Linked DNA regions of Homo sapiens: regions 1 and 2 are each linked to region 3. Evidence: promoter capture Hi-C in human tissues and cell types (Jung and others, 2019). All regions are on one chromosome and are shown on one strand. Each heading gives the region's core, a stretch centred on a gene start or on the middle of the fragment in contact. The rest is flanking DNA. Distances are from core to core; before and after follow the strand shown.

Region 1 (4,126 bases), core at 225-2,724, 140 kb after region 3:
TTAAAATGTCCTATTCCATGCCGGGCGCGGTGGCTGACGCCTGTAATACCAGCACTTTGGAAGGCCGAGGCGGGCGGATCACGACGTCAGGAGATCGAGACCGTCCTGGCTAACACAGTGAAACCCCGTCTCTACTAAAAAATACAAAAAAAAAAAAAAAATTAGCTGGGCGTGATGGCGGCCACCTGTAGTCCCAGCTACTCCAGCTACTTGGGAGGCTCAGGCAGGAGAATGGCATGAACCTGGGAGGCGGAGCTTGCAGTGAGCCAAGATCTCGCCACTGCACTCCAGCCTGGGCAACAGAGCGAGACTCCGTCTCCAAAAAAAACAAAAAAAAAAGAAACAACTGTCAAAATCAGGAAAGTAACATTGACACATTACTTCCATATAATTATCAGATCCTCTTCAACTGTTGCTTATTATTATACCAGTTATATACTTTATAGCAAAAAGGATCCAGGTCAGAATCACACATTGCATTTATTTTTCATGTTGTCTTAGTCTCCTCCAGTCTGGTTGCTGAGAGTATGTTCCCCATAATATTAGGTATATGACTGAACAAGGATTAGGTGTTTGCTTCCTAATTGTACTGAAACCTGCTAAAGGAATTGTTATCTTGGGATTTAACTGGATTGGATACATCCAGCTAAATACATTGGATGTTTTGTATCTGAAACAGGTTGGAGCCAACTATGTGTGTTTTTTTTTTTTGTATGTGTGTGTTTTTTTTTTTTTTGTGTCTGATGATTTCATGTATTCCCTTCTCCACCCCACCAACTTCTAGATACATACTTTCCCAACATGCCTCCAACGCCCCCCCCTCCCCCCCCCCCCCCCCCCCGCTTAATTTCTGCGTCACGGGAAGCACGAGTTTCCGACAGGGAGGATTGATGTGTGCAGTTGATTTAATATGCAATCCTAAATCCGTCCACTGTTACAGTGCAGTGCAGTTGATTAGACTAGAGGCAGAGAGGCTTGGGGAGCATCTTTTTACTGTCGAGTGTCTCCAGGTGGCAATTGCTGTTGAAGTCTGAGGCACTCTGGGAGGTATCGCGTGGGTGGGGGGGGGTCTCCTAGTACCCAGGCAGAAAGTGGGAGGGGACAAGGGGACAGAGGGAGAAGGGGTGCAAAGGGGCGCAGCTTCACCTGGCCCAGCTACGGGATGCTTGGCTCCTGGCTTTGGGGTAGGGGCCGGGAGAGATGGGGGCAGCGCTAACAAAGAGGAGCCGAGTCGGGCCGGGTCCGCGGGTAGCGGGCCTATCCCGGTGGCTGACCTCCCTGTGGGCCTCCCCAGTTGGCTGTTTGGCGAGTCGCTCTGCTGGCTCCCTGGCTCGCCATTGGCTGTGCAGACAGGAGAGGGCTCGCGAAGAGCCAGGGTGGAGGTGAGGGGGCGGGGCTGGCTTCCGGCGGCGGCTGGGAGCAAGCGGCAGCCGGCTGGGGGAGGGGGTGTCGGCGCACCGCGGAGTCCTGCGCTCCGTGAGCCTGGCACCCGGAGCAGCCGCCTCCCCCTCCCCCTGCCTAGACCGCTAGAAGCCCCCTCTCTTCCATCCTCCCGGGGCGGGGGTGAGCTGGGCTCAGCTGCCCAAGGCGGGCGGGGCGGAGCCAGGAGCCCCACGGAGCGCTGCGGAGCGAACCTCACCTTTCCAGGGCGCAAGGTGTGTGTGTGCTTTTTCTAACGCGACCCCGACTTCAGCCGACTTAACCTTGTAAGAAAAGGGGAAATGGAACGGGAAATAATGTCTCTGGATCGCATCAGTTTATTTTGATTATCTGTTTCTACCCTTCATCATTTTTTTTCCTTCCCTTCATCTCACCCCTGCAGATGGGTAAGGAGATTCAGGACTCTTATCTCTTTTTACTGATGTGTCGATATCGGTCGCATAGTAAAATGCACAGAGAAGAAAAGAGGAGCCCTTTTTTGTGTGGTATCTGATGCAGTAAACCGTAATTTAAAAAAAAGAAAAGGCAAGCTAGGAGTGGATATTTGGAACTGTACTCCATGCGTGTCCATTAAGGTTGTCTTCACCATTTTCCTCCTTGGGACTGCCTTGATCAGCAATAACAATCTGAAAGGAGAGGAGGTGCTAGTGGAAAGAGGGAGCAGCCCCAGTCAAATGGTGGTTAAAGGAAATCCTGATAGTTGTTAGTGATTAACTCTGCTAAAGTCTCTTCCTGGAGTACATTGTCACCGGCTTTGTGTAGTAGCTCATCTCTGTTGGAGAAACCTGACTAGAGCAGGCAAACTTACCTTGCTGTTGCTGAAACTTAAAAGTCTTATCTTTTTCTCTGTTGGTATATTTCTTATATTCACAGACCCTCGGAGGGAGTAGTTTCTATCGTCAAAAACCAAAACCAAACTTAAAAAAACAAACCTCCAGATGTATTTTAGTTCGTGGGGGTTTTTTTGTTTTTGTTTTTGTTTTTTGAGACGAGTCTCGCTCTGTTGCCCAGGCTGGAGTGCAGTGGCGCGATCTCGGCTCACTGCAACCTCTGCCTCCAGGGTTCAAGCGATTCCCCTGTCTTAGCCTCCTGAGTAGCTGGGATTACAGGCGCCTGCCACCACACCTGGCTAATTTTTTGTATTTTTAGTAGTGACCGGGTTTCACCGTGTTAGCCAGGATGGTCTTGATATCCTGACCTCGTGATCCACCCGCCTCGGCCTCCCAAAGTGCTGGGATTACAGGCGTGAGCCACCGCGCCTGGCCTAAATGGGCATTTTCAACGAAACGTGTTTGGAGCAGGTTTATCTTAATGTTGATTAGCAAAGAGCTACAGTACCAAAAGGGATGAATATTTTTTTTTTTGGCAACACTTTGATAAATATTAATTAAAATGGTTCAGAGTTTATGTAATACAGGTTCAGTTTCCCACGATTGTTGTAACTGGGGTCCACTTTTGAAGACAGAATTGATACACTGGAGCTGTCTTACACTTTTGGCTAGATTAGTGATTTTTTTCTTTGCATTGATTTATTAGATCTCTAGACAATTAGGAGCAATTTGGGATGAAAGCAAGTATTATAAAAAATAGGGATAATGGGATAGGAAACCATTTCAGCTGTGGAAAGTAATAGGGATTACGAAGCTTACTTTACCTTTTTTAAAAAGAAGATTTCAAATACCTTAGAATAGACATGTTACTAAAAAGTAGATTCACAGTAATCCTGTGTCAGGTTTTGGGTTTTTATTACTCACTTGTCCCTTAAGGCTCCATGAGTTGTATTTAAATTGGGAGGGAAAGGGGATCCCCCAGATGTTGACTAGTTAACTTGCTACTGAGAGTGAACTGTTAAAAATCACTGATTGAAGCCTTTACAGTTAGCTAGTATATAAAACAGAGTTAGCTAGTATATAAAACAAAGTTAGCTAGTATATAAAACAAAGTTAGCTAGTATATAAAACAAAGTTAGCTAGTATATAAAACAGAGTTAGCTAGTATGTAAAACAAAGTTAGCTAGTATATAAAACAAAGTTAGCTAGTATATAAAACAGAGTTAGCTAGTATATAAAACAAAGTGCACTTTGATATCTAAGGTATAGGAAGCTGGGGAAGTGACCAAAAAAACCAGTTGGAAGGCGGGGTGCAATGGCTTGCTCCTGTAATCCCAGCACTTTGGGAGGCTGAGGTGGGTGGATCACTTGAAGTCAGAAGTTAAAGACCAACATGGTGAAAACCCCGTCTCTACCAAAACATAAAAAAATTAGCTGGGCGTGGTGGTGCACTCCTGTAGTCCCAGCTGCTTGGGAGGCTGAGGTGGGAGAATTGCTGGAACCCGGGAGGCAGAGGTTGCAGTGAGCCAAGGTTGTACCACTGCACTCCAACCTGGGTGACACAGTGAGACCCTGTCTCAAAAAAACAAAAACAAAAACAAAAAAAAACCAGTTGGAGGCTGTACAATTTCAACTTGCTTCTGTCAAAAAACAAGTTTGCCCTTCTATTTGATATCTGGGTGGTTTTTATGTTCTCTACCCATGGGTGAGCAGTAAGTACAGCTTTATAAAGTTATACTTCACTCACTTTTTTATATTACTATTTTTTAATTTTTATGTTTTGTAGAGAATAGGGTCTGGCTCTGTTGCCCAGGTTGGTCTCAAACTCCTGGCCTCAAGCAGCCCTCCCAGAGGCC
Region 2 (4,275 bases), core at 1,480-3,979, 180 kb before region 3:
GTTGGTGCCGGGGAGGCTGAGGCAGGAGAATCACTTGAACCCGGGAGGCAGAGGCTGCAGTGAGCCGAGATGGCACCATTGCACTTCAGCCTGGCCTACAGAGTGAGACTGCATCTCAAAAAATAAAAATAAAAAAATAAAAACAATGCACACAGCTTCCAAGGGTAGGGAGTGCTATGTTCTGTGCCTACTTTCCTTCATTTTCCTTTAATATTTTATTCCTTACTCCAATGCCCTCTTGAGTTTTGTAATCCTTCCTCCTCCACTCCATCCCTCCTTTCCCCTTGTTGCCCACAGTGTTTATCCTGGCAGGTTCTGGCCTTTGGGAAGACTCAGAGACACTGAGAGACCCTGCCCCCCATTTCTTCTCTGACCCAGGGCACAGGTTACCTTCAGCGCCATGGCCTTTTCATCAAGGTTCGCCTTCTGGGAGCAAAAGGAAAGTTGGATTTTAAAATCTTTATGTTTTTCCTGTGTGCTTGGCATGTTGTATCTGCAGGCAGGAGACTGGCTTGTGGGAGAGGGAGCTTTGGAAGCTAGAGATGGATTGGGGCATGTGTGTATAATTGGGGGTGGCAGGGAGAATGACGGGGGCTGGTGAACTCCCTATTCTGGCTGGATGGGCTCCTGCACTGAGTCATGCTTCTCCCCTAAGCCCCACCTCTGGTAAGGTGAGCTGCCTTTTGTCCTGCTGGTGTCCCTCTGGGTTAACCCCTCCACACCCTTCCCACCACCCTGCTGCCTTGACTCACCCCTGGAACGTGGGCTGCTGTGGAGGGACCGCTGGAACTGGGTCTCCCTGATCCTGGGGGCTGCAGTGGGTTAGGAGGACAAGGGGCCAAGGGTGGGGAGTCAGGCCAGTTGGCCACCTGGGTCCAGAGGGTGATTCAGGCCACAGACTTGGGACTGCCTGTGTGTGTGCCTTTATGCGTGTGCATAGTCCCCAGCTGGGCAGTGACCTACAACAGCCAGAGCCCTTCTGATGGGGGAGGGAGGAGTGAGTCAGCCTGATGCTAAATCCAGAGCTGAGCTCAGAGCTGGGCCCAGTGTTTCAGACACTTGGGGGGCACCCAGTGTTTTCCCCAATGCCACACCTTGGGCCAGACATTTGGGGTCCCAAACTTGAGCCACTGGAGGGAGGACAGATTTGGAGCTGGTGAAGAACACAGAGTGGACTTGGAATCTGGGCCACCCCGGCACCCAAGTTAACAGCACTGCGTGCAGTAATGAGTGTGTCTGTGTGGTTTGCGAACACTTGTCCTCCCACTAACCTGTGTGCCCCAGAACTACTGCATGGTGTGATCCCTGGGGCAGCAAGGGGGAGAGTGATGGCTTGGTGGGGGGCAGCAGGCACAGACCTAGACCCTGCCACTCTTCCTCCCTCTGTCCACCAGTCCCTCCCTTCCCTTTCTCTGCTCCGATTCCAATTCTTAAAGAAGTAGGCTCCACTCTGGTGAATATTTGCCATTTCCCCTCGTCCTTGGCATTGTGAGCTAACTATGAAGATTGAGCCCGTTGCAGATAGCTCTGTGGACAAGATGCAGCTTTAAAACTGCAGCAGCCATCACGCCAGCCAGTGCCCCTGGCACTGCTAATTTGAGCTCAAAATTAGCCACAGACCCTGGTTAAAATTGGAGAGTCCCCCCAAGTGGATCATGTAAATGATTCTGGATGTTTCTAAAGATTTTTTCCCTTAGGAATCAAGGACTTCTTGCCATGCTCCTACCCACATTGTGCTGGGAAGGAGAGGCACGCTGAGGAGGAGGTAGGGTTGGTAACAGGGCTGTCTTTTTCCTGTAGTCCTAGGTGACGCGGGAAAGAGGAGAAATTAAATCCATAGGACTGCCTGAGCTTTTGGAGGGAGAGATACTGGTGAGGGGAAAGGAGAAGACTTTTTAAAACTTGAGGCCTGGCCTCTCTGAATCTGTTGTGAGCCAGTTTCTGAACTGAAAGAACCTTCAGAGCTTCCACATCATCTGCCCTTTTTCCAGATGTGTGATGGTATCTGCTGTTTCCACGACTCCACTCCTCCCCTCTGACTCAGGCCAGCCAGCTCCTGGGCTCCAGCACAAACCCCTGGCCCCAGTGTCCAGAGCTTAGGCATCTTTCCTTCCTCCATACCCCGCCCCTAACTTCAGGGTTCCCTCCCTCGGCTGCGTGGTTGGCAGTTTTGTGGGTCTGAGGTTGAGAAAATATCTGGCCTCCTGAATCTCCGCCTCTGCCCCACTCCCTGCCTCCAGCAAGATCTCAGCTGAGCTGGGGGAGTTGTGCAGGATCAAGAAGTAAGCCAGAGCCAGCCCAGTAGGGGCCAACCTTCACTCTACTCTAAAAGCTGCTGGCCCACAGGTACCCACACTGGGTTACTTTTACCTCCTCAGTCACTAGATCTGGGGCTTTTTGTTCAAACCACTTCTTGCCTGAGCTAGGGATGACTCTTGTAGTTTGGATGAGTTAAATTAGCTGGATCTTCCCATCTGCCACGTAACCAAAGCCACGATGGCACTGTGGGTGGACCTCTTTAGACAGCCCCCAAAGTGGGCAAAGTGGCTGGTTGCTGAGGGCAAGGGTACTTGGCTTTTTCCCCCACAGACTCTTCATTCTTGAAGTCATCACTGAACAGTTCTGATTCTAGGATAGGATAGCTCTTGCCCAGGTCCCCTAGCCCCGGTATTCCTAAAGACTCAGGAGCTCCACCTCAGGGTGAGGGAGGCCCCTTGAATGTTCTCTCCCTGTGCTTTTAGTGCTGGGTCTCCCAGCCTTGACCTGCCAGTGACTTCTTCATCTGCTCCCTCAGGTTAAAGAGGAGGACAAAACTCTGCCAAAGCCTGGCTCTCCTGGCAAGGAGGAAGGGGCTGTAAGTGCATCCTTGAGTTCTCCGAGGCATGCGTGTGTGTGTGCGGGCATGTGTGTGTGCATGCGTGCATGTGTGTGTGCGTGTGTGTGTTTGCCCCTGCACCCACTAGCCCTGGACTAGCCTGTGAGACAGCTCCATGGAGTAGGTGGGGATTGCAGGGGGCCCCTTCCTGTGTGGCTCAGCTGAAGAGAATTCTAGTAAAGGGGAAGAAAGTACGGTGTATGTGATGCCAGCTTCAGGTGTGTGAAGGAGATGGCCAAGGTGCTTTGGGGACCTCCCCTAACCTCCTCCCCAATCCCCTTAAGTTGCCTCCCTTTGGTTCTGGTTTCCTGAACCCTTTGGGCCTGGAGAGGCTTGGGTGGGCAAACTCTTAGGTCAGGGAGCGTCGAATGAGAGCTCAGCTGTTGGGATTCTTCAGCCTGCTCTGGGTGGCACAAGGCAAAGGCATGGAGGGACTTCACTGTAGTCGCTGCTGTCTCTTCCAAGACCCTGTCAGCTGCTTGGTGCAGGTGACCTGGAGGCAGGCTCCAGCTACTCACTGCCTCCAGCCCCAGCGCATTGGGATAGAGACCCTGAATAAACCTGGACTCTCCTAAGGCAAGAATAGCCTTAGGTTTCTGAATAGCCAAGTCCAAAGATGTGTAGTTAGGAGAGGGCAGCTGGTAGCACAGGGGGCAGGAGTGCCCAGGGCTCTGGGGCAGAGCTGGATCACAACACATATTCTTACTTCATTACCCCAGATGGTGCCTGTCCTGGCTCCCTGCACTTCCTTGGTCAGTTTGATTAGCCAGGCACTGTGGCTTCCACCTGATCTGCAAACAATCCTGGAAAGCCAGCCTGTGATTTGAAAGGGTTGTGTGTGTGTGTGTGTGTGTGTGTGTGTGTGTGTGTGTGTGTGTGTGTGTGTGGGAGAGGCCTCAGAGTTGCCCAGAATTTATTTTATTTTATTTTTTTTGCAAAAACTACATGTAAAGTGCTTGGAAGAGTGCCATGGCCCATAGTGAGTACTGTGTAAGTCTTACCAATTACTATCATCATCATTGTCATCATTTTCTTTTCTTTTTTTTTTTTTTTTTTTTTTTTGAGACAGGGTTTTACTCTGTCACCCAGGCTGGAATGCAGTGGTGCCATCTCAGCTCATTGCAACCTCTGCCTCCCAGGCTCAAGCCATCCTCCCACCTCAGCCTCCTGAGTAGCGTAGCTGGGACTATAGGCACACACCATCAAGCCTGGCTACTTTTTGTATTTTTTGTAGAAACAGTTTCACCATGTTGCCCAGGCTGGTGTTGAACTCCTGAGTTCAAGCAGTCTCCCTGCCTTGGCCTCGCAAAGTGCTAGGATTACAGGCGTGAGCCACCACACCTGGCCCATCGTCATCATCTTAATGATGGAAGGGGGATGGGAGGAAAGCCAGAAGAGGG
Region 3 (3,907 bases), core at 861-3,360:
GGGCGGGAGCTCTCCAAGGTGGGAGCATTCCTTGGCCCCACTGGCCTAACCTCATCCTGCAAGTTCCAAGAGGAAGAGGTGTGAAGTTTCCCTGGCTCTTGTCAACAGAGCCAAGTCTTATTTCCCTCATTAGCCCATAGTTCCTATTATCAGCTGCAATTGATGGTGTTGATCAAAGCAAAGCCTTGTCCAGTGGATGGATGCCAATGGCTTACTTACCTGTTCCATAATGCCTCCAGGTTAACACAGCAGCACAGCTGGGCCCTGAGCAGTAGGAAAAAAAGCCAAAGAGAGAGGGCACATGAGGTTCTAAACTCTGAGAGCCTGTGACATAAAATATAGCCATAGGAGATAGAAAATCTTGCCTCTTTCATACAAACAATCTAGCTCAGCCCTCCCCTCTCTGATGGCCACATCTCTGGTCCACAGCTCCTGAAGTTTATTGTTGGCTCAGAATGGTAGAAAGCAGAGGGCAGCCAATTCACATGACATTCTCCACCCCACCATCCATGACCTTATCATTCTTTCCAGGCACCAAGAGGGTCATCAGAAAAGCGAAAAGTCAGGAAAACAGAAACCTAAGACTCCATACACTGACATCCCCACTCTGTCTAACTCATCCTCCTTACTGTCCCCAAAGCAAGCATAGTAATTCCTTAGACACAGTCGACATAGTGTAATGGACAGTGTCTGGCTTGAGAATCAAGAAATCCAATTCTTAGGTCTGCCATAAATGCACTATGTGACCTAGGCAAATCACTGCGCCTCCCTGTGCATCTGGAAAAGAGGGGATTAAATCAGATGGTCTCTAAACCCTTGCTAGTTTGACGACTCTGAGAATGCTGTGTCCCTTAACATTAAAAGTGGGCCGAGCACAGCTACGAAGCAACAATTCCAACTAAACCCCTAGTGTCAAGCACAACGATACAATTCTCTTTTCCACTGCTTCATCCACCATCAGGCAGCAATAACCAACCGCCCATCTCTGACGGCAATACCAAGGGGAGGAGCGGGCGCCCTGAAAAGGAGCATGAATCCCCGCCCAGAATGCGAGGCGGGCCCTCAGACTACAAATCCCGGCATGCAGCACTGACGCTCTCAAAAGTATCCCTTCCTGGCCGGCAAATGACTCTTCCCCGGGTCTATCCTACCATAGAGTGCATCGCACGCACATGGAACTACAGTTCCCACAATCCATCAGACCTATCGCGATTCTTGCTCCCAGGATGCAATGCGCCCCCGTTCGCCCTTTAGACCCTTTGGCGTTGCAAACTGGGAGTTGGAGTCCGGGGTACGCAGGTAGCTGGGCGTTGTCAGGATTACAAACTCTCCACTTTAGGCTTCCTCTTGAAGAGCAGATCTCAGGGACAGTGGTGAAGAGAGGGTGGTAACGGGCAGGCGGAACTCTCCAGTGCCACCACCACGCAAGGCAGGGATGCTGAGGATACAATTAACTGATAAAATTATCTGTCAGGAGCGGGAGAGAATTAGGAACCACAGTCATCCCACACGCCTCCAAAAGCGTCATTTTCTGTCTCAAATGGCTTTTCTCTTTACCAATATGGTGGCCTGGTCCAGCCACACCCGATGGTAGAACCAAACGGTCAAGTACAACATCCCTAGGAATACTGCTGTCACCGACAGGCGACCAGCTCCATCCAACACCACACCTTGCTCCTTTCTGTTCATGCCTGAGGACTCCAAGGGCATGATAGCCCATATCCCATTACCAAAATGGCGAAAGGAGCAGCTTTCTTGTGAGGGCCTGCGGAAGGCAATACGCCTGCGCGGGAGGCGTCTGTGTTATGGAGAGGAAGGGGGAGCACCCCCAACACGCCTGCGCAGAACAGAGTCGTCTTAGTTTGCACACAAACACCAATGGATGAACAGTCCCTAGCTTCCTGCGGCTGCGCCTTGACCCCTACAAGCTTTCTCAAGCGCCTGCGCGAGACCTCAGGTCCCGCCCTTTTGTCTCAGTGCGCTGGCGCAGGGCAGAAAGGTGGGGCTTCGGTCCTCCAGACGAATGCCAGCGCGGCTGCGCGCTGGGGGGTACTCCCTCACCGCGGCTGCGCGGGAGCCAGGCCGCCGGCTGTCACTGCGGTTGCGCGCGGCGAGCGCCGATCCCGGGGCGCCTGCGCGGGTGGCTTTGCGGGCGCTCGCGGTAAGTTTGCGCCAAGTGCGCGGCAGCCGGGACGCAGACGGCGGCGGCGGCGAGAGGCGGAGCCCGGGGACCACCCCCCATCACCCTCCCCCCAGTCACCTCACGTACCACAACCTCACGTAACCTCTCACCCCCCCTCCGATACCCCCAGCCCCGGGATGGCAGCGCCCGCCAGCCTTCCCGGCCGGACCGGCTGTCGCCAGTGCCGGCTTTAGCCTGTGGGACTAGGCCCCGCCGAGGCCTGACCCCCGGAGCCGGGACCCACTGTGCAGCCAGCAGCCGGGCCGGGACTGAGGGGCCGCTCCCCCCTCGCGGCCCGTCGGGAGGACGCTGTCGTCCCGGGGACTGGGGGCCGGGGGGTGGGGGGGAGCCAGGGCGAGGAAGTCGGGACCCGTATTGGGAAAAAAGCGGGGCCGGGGTCAGGAGCGCCCCCTCCCCTCACCTCCCCCCTCCCCCCGGGGTTGGGGGGGCCGGAGCAGAGAGCACCCAGCCCGGGAGGTGGATGAATGTGGGAGAAAATGGAGACCAAGACGATCGTGTACGACTTGGACACATCAGGGGGGCTGATGGAGGTAAGAGTGGCCCTCCTCATCTCCTTCCTCCAGCGCCGGGAGGGAACCTCCGCCCTCCGCCCCACAAAGCCAGTCCTAAACTCGAAGCGCCTAGATGGCCGAGGGAGGGGGATTCTTCCTCACCTAGCCTCTCCCTCCCCTCTTTGCAATTTAGGGGGCTGAGCTCAGCCTCCGAGGACGTTTGCAGCAGTTTCACCTACCCGCCGCCCTCGATTCGCTCTCCCGAGGCGCCAGCCCACTCCATCTCGTTGCACCGGCAGGCCTCCCCACCCCCTTCTTGTTGGCCCCTTTGTGCTTCCCCCAGCACGTCCGGGTACCGGGCTTTGGGCCTCTCCCGAGCGGGTCTTTGGAGTCCCCCACTGTCCATACAAGGAAGTGGCAAGAAGGGAACCGCGCACCCTCTTCCCATCCCCCTACCCTTGATCCTCCCCATTTGGAAGAAGCTGTTCTCGTTGTTGTGCTGCAGGAACGCGGTTAGGGTGGGCTCCCCCTGGTTCCGGGGGCTGAGAGATTCTGGGAGCAGCCTGGATGGGAGGAAGAAGGACAAAAGGGGGGAGAGGGGTGGGTGACGGAGAAACCGCGCCGGGGGGGCGACGGACCGCCCGGGAGCTCCGAGTGTGCACACACGCCGTTTGTATGTGTGTGCAGCAAATCCAAGCTCTGCTGGCTCCCCCCAAGACGGACGAGGCAGAAAAGCGCAGTCGGAAGCCTGAGAAGGAGCCCCGGAGAAGCGGCAGGGCCACCAACCACGACAGCTGCGATAGCTGCAAGGAAGGTGGAGATCTCCTGTGCTGCGACCACTGCCCGGCTGCCTTCCACCTCCAGTGCTGGTAAGGTCTGGGGACCCTTTTGGAGCTTCTTGGCGGACCCTTCTCTGCGCATTCCTTCACCCGGCCTGCCCCTGACTGCCGAAATAACGGGCGCTTGCAGCCGCTAGCTGACTTTCTGCAGCTGCCGGGGCGAGCACCTCCCCGCCCCCAGGTGTCCGCCGGGTTCTGGCAGTTTAGCGGGGAGGAGCAGCGGTGGGTCCGGACCCCGAGGTGGGGGTTGGGACGAGTGAAGAGAACCCCATATGGGATTGGAAGTCGCTGGGGAGCCGGGACAGAGCCGGCCGGGGACAGCCGGCAGTGGCGGGGGAGGAAGGGGAGGAGCTCCGGGCCCAGTGCCGCTTGCC

What was found. The method cuts DNA at HindIII sites, captures the fragments that hold promoters and counts their contacts. A contact is called where the count stands out against the background at its distance.
Region 1: a fragment that was not itself captured here is called in contact with the fragment with the promoter of PHF12 in region 3 in 1 of the 25 tissues and cell types used here (hippocampus).
Region 2: a fragment that was not itself captured here is called in contact with the fragment with the promoter of PHF12 in region 3 in 1 of the 25 tissues and cell types used here (dorsolateral prefrontal cortex).

Annotation. Positions count from the first base shown.
Region 1 is chr17:28,809,738-28,813,863 of GRCh38, reverse strand. The region is part of intron 1 of FAM222B (family with sequence similarity 222 member B); the gene reads left to right. Among named protein-coding and RNA genes, the nearest start is that of FAM222B, 31 kb to the left of the region's middle. RefSeq lists a silencer at 1,365-1,654 and an enhancer at 1,180-1,822. The HindIII fragment of the contact is 5,142 bases long and covers 1-4,045 here.
Region 2 is chr17:29,129,962-29,134,236 of GRCh38, reverse strand. The region is part of intron 2 of MYO18A (myosin XVIIIA); the gene reads left to right. Among named protein-coding and RNA genes, the nearest start is that of MYO18A, 48 kb to the left of the region's middle. RefSeq lists an enhancer at 852-1,146. The HindIII fragment of the contact is 7,003 bases long and covers 1-4,275 here.
Region 3 is chr17:28,949,721-28,953,627 of GRCh38, reverse strand. It overlaps PHF12 (PHD finger protein 12), which reads left to right and starts at 2,110. Exons shown (of 15, transcript NM_001033561.2): 1 at 2,110-2,733; 2 at 3,382-3,563. The coding sequence starts at 2,668. LOC105371716 (a long non-coding RNA gene) reads right to left here and starts at 2,026. Exons shown (of 5, transcript XR_001752822.2): 1 at 220-2,026. RefSeq lists enhancers at 986-1,607, 1,309-1,718, 1,819-1,868, 3,609-3,907 and silencers at 2,039-2,308, 3,819-3,907. The HindIII fragment of the contact is 9,214 bases long and covers 1-3,907 here.